Regions from separate parts of the Homo sapiens genome. Here regions 2 and 3 are each linked to region 1. Evidence: promoter capture Hi-C in human tissues and cell types (Jung and others, 2019). All regions are on one chromosome and are shown on one strand. The core of a region is centred on a gene start or on the middle of the fragment in contact, and the rest is flanking DNA. Distances in the headings are between cores, read along the strand shown. Region 1 holds the start of ZNF750 (zinc finger protein 750). Region 2 overlaps QTGAL (queuosine-tRNA galactosyltransferase). Region 3 overlaps QTGAL (queuosine-tRNA galactosyltransferase).

Region 1 (2,861 bases), core at 109-2,608:
CACTCCCTCCCAGCCTTTCGGTTCTTTAAAATGAAAGATAAACCTCAGGACAACCAAGACCTGGGGAAAAGACAGTCTTTGGGAATGTAATTTGGAAGAATGGATCCAGAAAAACAACCAGGGGCTCTTAACTCTAGTTTCGGCAGGAGATCCCGAGTTACAGACCTGAGCTCGTAAACAAACGCTCACCACTTTACAGTCGCCGCCTCATCCTGAAACTCCGGTCAGAAATGCTGGAAGGCCTTTGCTAATGCGCAGTGAAAATTAGGGGCACAGATGTGGACGGACTGTGCTTGGTCAGTAATTGTTCTCCTCCAAATCAAGTTTATGAGAAATTTCATATAAGGAAAAAAACCCTTTTGTATCTGTGTCTATATGTACAGAAGACCTTAACAACCAAACAGAAACTTAACCCCTTTGGTTTGGTTTTGTTTTCGAAAGCTTATGCCCAATTTTAAACTTCATGTAAGCTTATGTACTTATTTTAAACTTTAAAACTATTAAAAGTTAAACTAGATAGTAAATTCGGCACTGTCTAATGTGCATACACCACAAACATATAACCCTAAATTCAGCTGTGTCTAATGTGTATACACCACACATATATATAACCCTAAATTCAGCCTGATGTACTTATACCACACATATATAACCCTAAATTCAGCCTAATGTACATATACCACACACACATATATATAACCCTAAATTCAGCCTAATGTACATACACCACACATATATATAACCCTAAATTCAGCCCTAATGTACATACACCACACATATATAACCCTAAATTCAGCCTAATGTACATACACCACACATATATATAACCCTAAATTCAGCCCTAATGTACATACACCACACATATAACCCTAAATTCACCCTAATGTACATACACCACACATATATATATGACCCTTACCTCTTGTTAGCATTTATTGTAGTTTGTTTTTGAGGTTAGGAGCAGTTAAGCAATAATATGAATTTGTGTTGGTTTAACTTTTATGAATTTTAGGGCAGAACAAGGAGTTAATTTCCAGATAAGCTTGTTCATGTTCTTAGAATAAAGTGTCAGCCTCATTAGAAGTTTTGTAATCGTGGTCTGCATCCCAGCCATGCACCTGCTGGGTCCTGAGTAATCCTCGGAGCCCAGAGCAAGGCAGAGCAGACACGGAGCAAACGCTGCGTTCAGCTGGGTATTTTAGATACGTCTGAGAAGAGTTTTAAAATAAAACTTGAATTTGAAAAGAAATAGTGAGTACTTACCAGAGGTGGGCAGTGCTGGGATGTGGCCGGTCTTGGTGCCGGTGGCTGGCGGTGCTCAGGAAGCAGTACCTGTTCTCACGCTTGCTGGGTGAAACTGGAGCCTGCTGTTCCAGTGGGAGGGATTTAAGTGTAGGAGTTGAGCCCTCGGGGCGTAGAGATGCACCTGATATTCCTCCTGCCCGCAGCTACGATTCATGTGTTTGCACCCACCGAGCTGCTGCGGGCAGCCTCCCCAGCACTGGACCCAGCAAGCAAGTTATCTCGCCGACTCCCAGCGCTGTCTCCAGACTCAACTGTCTGTGAGTGCGGCGTCGGTGCTGCCTGGACGGCCATATGTCAGAGGGCTTTCGATGTGTCCGCAGTTAGAATAGAGATTACTATATTCATCAGAATCACACCCGATGAATATTTGGCGTCATGATAAAGACATGTGAGACTTTCCTTTAGAACTTGAGCATGTGTACGCAGGAGGCAAACACTTGGATTGATTCTCAAGCGCGCATACCCTGGGAGGCACAGTATTCATGGCGTCCTTGCCATGAGGTCCAGTGAGGCCTTTGAGGATCTGTGGACCTTCCACCCTCTACCCTGCTCCTGAGAGTCTCTGTCCCTGGTCCTCCTCAGGAGCTGAGCCGGCAGGGAGGGAGCTTATCCCAGAGCCTGGCTGCAGGGACCTGCCGGAGCTTGCCCGACACCAGGCACCGCAAGAGCTGCGGAGCAGGGTGTGTGGGTGCGGGGGAGGGGGCCAGCTGTGCACTCCCGCAAACCACCCTCCCCCCACTTTAAATTGCAGAGGCACTTAACTTGGGGGCCAGTTTTTACCTCCACACCCCCCCACCAAAACTGCTTGCTTGCTTAATCGGAGGCCGCACCCCAGTTGTAGCGAAGGCTGGCATGTGGTGTCGGTTTGAGGACTGGGAAAGGAGGTGGGATGAGCTGGTGTCAGGCCCTTGGATGAGCCTGAGGCTGCAGGGCAGAGGCTGCAGGGCTGTGGCATAGGGACGAGCTGGCCAGGACAGACAAACTGGTTTTTTTTTTTTTTTTTTTTTTTTTTTTTGAGACAGAGTTTCACTGTTGCTGCCCAGGCTGGAGTGCAATGGCATGATCTTGGCTCACTGCGTTTCTCCTGCCTCAGCCTCCCGAGTAGCTGGGACTACAGGCGCCTGCCACCACGCCCGGCTAATTTTTTGTATTTTTAGTAGAGATGGGGTTTCACCGTGTTAGCCAGGATGGTCTTGATCTCCTGACCTTGTGATCCACCCACGTCGGCCTCCCAAAGTGCTTGGATTACAGGTGTGAGCCACTGCACCCGGTCTGTTTTTTTGTTTTTGTTATTTTTTTCCTTAAGACTTAAGATTTTACATGGCTTTGCGTTTACTTTTATATTTAATTCCTTTTTTTTTTCTTTTGAGACAGGGTCTTGCCCTGTCACCCAAGCTGGAGTGCAGTGGTGCGATCACGGTTCACTGTAGCCTCAACCTCCTGGACTCGAGTGATCCTCCCGCCTCAGTCTCCCCAGTAGCTGGGACTACAGGCACGGTCACTATGCCTGGAGAATTTTTTGTAGAGACAGGGTTTTGCCATGTTTCCTAGGATGG
Region 2 (2,861 bases), core at 177-2,676, 190 kb after region 1:
TAAAGCAGAAGCAAAACCACAGGTGGGAAAGTAAAGAAATAAAGGGATTAGCGGAGAAGGAGGCAAAGGGCAGCTGTAGAGGTGGAAAGGAGAACAGCCTCTGACACGGGACAGGCCTTGGGCGTTGCAGGCTGTGCTCAGAGCACCTGCCGGCTTGTGAGGGTTCTAGACGGCACTGCTGCTCGGGGTCTGGGGCACGGCTACAGCCACATCCCTGTCCCCTCGGTTCAAGGATCGGCAGTGAGGATGAGAACGGCCAGGCTTGTCTGTAACCCTCCCCACAGCCCCGGCGATGACTCGACAATGCTGTAGAGCCGGCCGAATGGATGCAGAGCCTTTGGGCCGTCCCCGTCTGCAGCGCCCGCCCCGCCTTGGCCCTTCTCATCCCAGCCACATGGGCCCCTCTCCTCTCACCTGAGGCCCCAGTTCAGAGGCCTCGGGGCGGTTCCGGGAAGGCCATGTGGCTTCCTGTGCACGTGGACAGCCATGCGGCCGGTTCCCCAGTGAAGACGGGAGTCGGGGGACAGGAGGGTGGCAGAGGCTCTCCACCCTGGGAACCCTGAAGGGCGAAGGGAAAAGAAAACCTGGTCGGCTCAGAAGTAAGCAGCGCTCTCACAACCACCAGACCTCCTGGGTGAAGCCGCTCTGCAGATGTTTTCATAGACATTATGTTTGAACATCTCTAAGAGGACTGGAACCCAAATCATTATAATGAATGAGCTATTTAGAGGCTATTTTCTTTAAAAGCCAGGCTTCTTGTTTACTTTGTTTTATTCTACTAAAGTTTCCAAGAACACAGACAACCGAGACGAGAACACAGCAGTGTGTGCCAGGAGGAAACGCCGCGTCAGGCACTGATCCATCAGAGGCCGGCAGGGAAGGGTGTAAACTCAGCGACGGCCGCCAGAGCACCCACGGGTCCCTCGCAGGACCAGAGTCACGTTTTCCAGCGGGGAAGGGTGTAAACTCAGCAACGGCCGCCAGAGCACCCACGGGTCCCTCGCAGGACCAGAGTCACGTTTTCCAGCGGGGAAGGGTGTAAACTCAGCGACGGCCGCCAGAGCACCCACGGGTCCCTCGCAGGACCAGAGTCACGTTTTCCAGCGGGGAAGGGTGTAAACTCAGCGACGGCTGCCCGAGCACCCACGGGTCCCTCGCAGGACTGGCGCCACGTTTAGACAGGGCTCTGCGAGGACTCACCCCTCTGCCCCTTAGGAACCTGGCCATGGGACAGTCACGGGGGAGGCCTTCCACAGCCTTTCCAAGGACACCTGAGGCCACCTAATAGGCTCGAGGACAAGCCGTCTAGGCAGGTGTCACGTGACGAGAACGGTGTGCAGGGAGGCTCCACTCTGACTGCAGCAGGTGTGGGGTGGGTCCCAGGGAGGATGGAGATGCTTCATGAGCAAAAGGTGAAGATCTGTTTAAACCGTCCTCAGTTGCCAACGCTAGAGGTCAGGAACCGAATCTGTTCGACTGTAACGCCCTCTGCACATACTGGATCCAGAGTGAGTTTCAGGTGACGTTCACACTGGTCAGCTGGGCAAAACCCCAACGTCCTTCGAGGATGTTCACTCTCGTCCTCATCAACTCCACAGAGCAGCCAGCACCCGGGAAGGTGCCCACAGGCCCAGCCTCACAACATCTGCAGACCTGCTCCTAAGCCAGGCACAGAAGCTGAACAACCGGGTCAGACCAGGCCAGGCCTCCGACGCAGACCGAACTCGGGAGCTGAACAACCAGGTCAGACCAGGCCAGGCCTCCGACCCAGACCGAGCTCGGGAGCTGAACAACGGGTCAGACCAGGCCAGGCCTCCGACGCAGACCGAACTCGGGAGCTGAACAACGGGTCAGACCAGGCCAGGCCTCCGACCCAGACCGAGCTTGGGAGCTGAACAACGGGTCAGACCAGGCCAGGCCTCCGACCCAGACCGAGCTCGGGAGCTGAACAACGGGTCAGACCAGGCCAGGCCTCTGACGCAGACCGAACTCGGGAGCTGAACAACGGGTCAGACCAGGCCAGGCCTCCGACCCAGACCGAGCTCGGGAGCTGAACAACCAGGTCAGACCAGGCCAGGCCTCCGACGCAGACCGAACTCGGGAGCTGAACAACCAGGTCAGACCAGGCCAGGCCTCCGACGCAGACCGAACTCGGGAGCTGAACAACCAGGTCAGACCAGGCCAGGCCTCCGACCCAGACTGAGCTCAGGGGCCCAGCACACCCTAATCCTGTCACCCAAAGACAATAAAAAGCACCATTTTCCATGTGGTGGGTTGAGCTGTCCTTGGTGGATGCTGTCTTAGTGAGGAAAACATTGGATGGACCATCTGAGCATGAAAACATGAGCCCAAGGAAGGGTCAGGAGAGAGGGCTGAAGGTTCTGTGTAAGAAAACGGGAGAAATCTGAGGTGTTTTGGTCTAAGAAGAAAAGAGAAGAAAGAGACCCAGGCACCAGGACAGGAGTCATAGCAGCTGGTGCCGCCCTGGGGGTTCCGCCTTCCCGAGCTGGGCCGATAAATATGCAGTTTTACCCCGTCTGCACACGGGCACGCCTCTCCCAAACTTCCACATGTACCAGGAGCATGTGCAGAGGCTTCTGGTGATCAAGGAAAAGAGCTGGGTCAGGAGGAGAGGAACGGGCGGCTCCCGCGTAAATCCCCGCGTAGGCAGGAGCTCTGGGCCAGAGCGGCCTGGAGACGCTGAGCGGCACCCCAGGAATGCACAGAAGCCCCGGAACCTGGCCACAGAGGAGGGACAGATACAGATAAATGTTCCTGAAGTTTATTTTAAAGTAATTTTTAAATATCTATAGTTGAGTGTAGACTATACAAGCGACTACCTGTTATTCAGTCATTTGTCC
Region 3 (2,861 bases), core at 130-2,629, 160 kb after region 1:
AGCACATGACTGCATTTACCTGAGCCTCCAGCAAATGTAAAACTGCTGTGCAGGCAGAAAGTGGGTCATGGTTGCATGGTGTGGGGAGGGCTCCGGGATGGACAGGAGGAAACTTGGGGTGTTGGATATATGTGTTCACTGTGTTGACTGTGGTGGGTCACTGGGGTACAGACACATGTCAAAACCGATCAAACTGTACATTTGAAATAGGGGCCATTTGCTGTATGTCAGTTATACATCAACAAAGCTATACATCAACAAAGGTATACATCAACAAGACAAATGGACAAATCACTGTAAATCCCATAAAGCCTCTAGCTCTAAGTACTACTTTGCAGGAACTCCAGGGACAGAGGAATCTGTTAAATGAGACCAGGGAGATGCAATCAGCAGAAGTCGGACTACTGAAAGCACCGATGGCAAATCATTCAACATCGTCCACAACATAGTCAAGGAAAAGGAAGACGGAGGAATCTGGATATTTAAAGGGATTTATCAACAACTGCAATGTATGCACCTTCTTTAGATCTCAATTCAAACCAGAAACTGTGAAGAAAAAAGGAAGAAGATGAGAAAGTGGACAAGGAGGAGAAAAACAGAACTTTATGAAACAGAAAGTCCCAGGAAGGAACACTTCGGCATCCTTCAAGTCAACACAGGGTGTAGGACTCCATTTACGTAAAATTCCAGCAAACGTAAACCAGTCTATGGTCACAGAAAGCAGAGGGGCGGGCGGGGTGGGGGACGGGAGCCCCTCTAGGTGCTGGGTGTGTGACCTGCACACAGAGACATCTGAGAGGAACAAGTGGTGGGTTTGCAGTAACATCGTTTTTTCTCTGTAATTTTTTATATTGCTTGACTTTATGAAACAGTGAAGCATAACTTTTGACAAATGCAATAAAGTTTTTCTTTTTCTTTTTTTGAGACAGGGTCTGTTGCCCAGGCTGGAGGGCAGTGGTACAATCATGGCTCATGGTGGCCTTGACCTCCTGGGCTCAGGTGATCCTCCCACCTCAGCCTCCCGAGAAACTGGGACTAAAGGTGTGAACCACCACACCCAGATAATGTTTCGTAGAGACAGGGTCTCACTATATTGCGCAGACTGGTCTTAAATCCCCAGGCTCAAGTGATCCTCCTGCTTCAGCCTCTCAAAGTGCTGGGATTATAGGCGTGAGCCACTGCGCCTTTTTTTTTTTTTTAAATTTCCCACACTATACTGGCATGAAGGTCTATTTTAAAATTGTTTTAAGTGAATACAGTATGTAACTGATAAAAGAACATTGATTCATTTTAATTAAAAAACATGAAAATAAAAAACTCTTCTATGGGCATCAAAGCTAACACTCAGGAGAAAGCCTGCCCCCACGGGGCAGCTCAGCCATGGCCTCCGGGGAACCCGCTCTCGGTGACAGCGCTCTGACCGCGGTCTGGAGCTGGGCTGAAACTCAACATGTGTCCAGACTGCTGCAGTTCAGAACCAGCTTGGCAACGCCGAACCGCATTCCGGTTTGCACGAGGTGCACGTTACTTAGAAAAGTAGCCACAGTCTGCCTGAGTTCCCGTTTTAAGTATTTTCACAACTTCACTGAAAAGCACAGCAACTCACTCACAGTGTGCAGCCTAGTCACCAGGACACGCGCCCTCGGCCGCTAGCTCGTACAGGGAAGGGCTGTCATGACATGACCACAAGATGGTCTCTGCCTCCCCCAGGGGCAGCCAAGGGCCCCACAGAGGATGGCAGGGACAAGCCACCCATGTGGCAACGGCCACGTCCCCTCCCTCAGACGGCAGCCAGTCATACCCGAGGCGGCACCGCGGGCGGCCCCGTGTCCAGTCTCACAGAAGCACAGTCCACTGCCGAGGACACCCTGTTGTCCACATCGCATGCAGCAGCCTGGCTCTTGGAACGTGCTGGGGGCACACGGGACACGGAGACGCTGAAACACTAGCTGTGGGATTCCTGAGCCCGCCCTCCCACTCTCTGCAGTCCGCGTGTGGGATTCCTGAGCCCGCCCTCCGCGTGTGGGATTCCTGAGCCCGCCCTCCCGCCCTCCGCGTGTGGGATTCCTGAGCCCGCCCTCCCACTCTCCGCAGTCCGCGTGTGGGATTCCTGAGCCCGCCCTCCCGCCCTCCGCGTGTGGGATTCCTGAGCCCGCCCTCCCGCCCTCCGCGTGTGGGATTCCTGAGCCCGCCCTCCCACTCTCCGCAGTCCGCGTGTGGGATTCCTGAGCCCGCCCTCCCGCCCTCCGCGTGTGGGATTCCTGAGCTCGCCCTCCCACTCTCTGCAGTCCGCGTGTGGGATTCCTGAGCCCGCCCTCCGCGTGTGGGATTCCTGAGCCCGCCCTCCCACTCTCTGCAGTCCGCGTGTGGGATTCCTGAGCCCGCCCTCCCGCCCTCCGCGTGTGGGATTCCTGAGCCCGCCCTCCCGCCCTCCGCAGTCCGCGTGTGGGATTCCTGAGCCCGCCCTCCCGCCCTCCGCGTGTGGGATTCCTGAGCTCGCCCTCCCACTCTCTGCAGTCCGCGTGTGGGATTCCTGAGCCCGCCCTCCCACTCTCCGCAGTCCGCGTGTGGGATTCCTGAGCCCGCCCTCCCGCCCTCCGCGTGTGGGATTCCTGAGCTCGCCCTCCCACTCTCTGCAGTCCGCGTGTGGGATTCCTGAGCCCGCCCTCCCACTCTCTGCAGTCCGCGTGTGGGATTCCTGAGCCCGCCCTCCCACTCTCTGCAGTCCGCGTGTGGGATTCCTGAGCCCACCCTCCCACTCTCTGCAGTCCGCGTGTGGGATTCCTGAGCTCGCCCTCCCACTCTCTGCAGTCCGCGTGTGGGATTCCTGAGCCCGCCCTCCCGCCCTCCGCATGTGGGAT

Evidence for each region. The method cuts DNA at HindIII sites, captures the fragments that hold promoters and counts their contacts. A contact is called where the count stands out against the background at its distance.
Region 2: a fragment that was not itself captured here is called in contact with the fragment with the promoter of ZNF750 in region 1 in 3 of the 25 tissues and cell types used here (dorsolateral prefrontal cortex, lymphoblastoid cells and mesendoderm cells).
Region 3: a contact is called between a fragment that was not itself captured here and the fragment with the promoter of ZNF750 in region 1, in 7 of the 25 tissues and cell types used here (IMR-90 fibroblasts, adrenal gland, dorsolateral prefrontal cortex and 4 more).

Annotation. Positions count from the first base shown.
Region 1 is chr17:82,838,664-82,841,524 of GRCh38, forward strand. It overlaps ZNF750 (zinc finger protein 750), which reads right to left and starts at 1,359. Exons shown (of 3, transcript NM_024702.3): 1 at 1,264-1,359. The region is part of intron 13 of TBCD (tubulin folding cofactor D); the gene reads left to right. The HindIII fragment of the contact is 7,618 bases long and covers 757-2,861 here.
Region 2 is chr17:83,030,344-83,033,204 of GRCh38, forward strand. All of the region lies in intron 4 of QTGAL (queuosine-tRNA galactosyltransferase), which reads right to left. Among named protein-coding and RNA genes, the nearest start is that of QTGAL, 20 kb to the right of the region's middle. The HindIII fragment of the contact is 9,928 bases long and covers 1-2,861 here.
Region 3 is chr17:83,000,872-83,003,732 of GRCh38, forward strand. All of the region lies in intron 6 of QTGAL (queuosine-tRNA galactosyltransferase), which reads right to left. Among named protein-coding and RNA genes, the nearest start is that of QTGAL, 49 kb to the right of the region's middle. The HindIII fragment of the contact is 7,803 bases long and covers 1-2,861 here.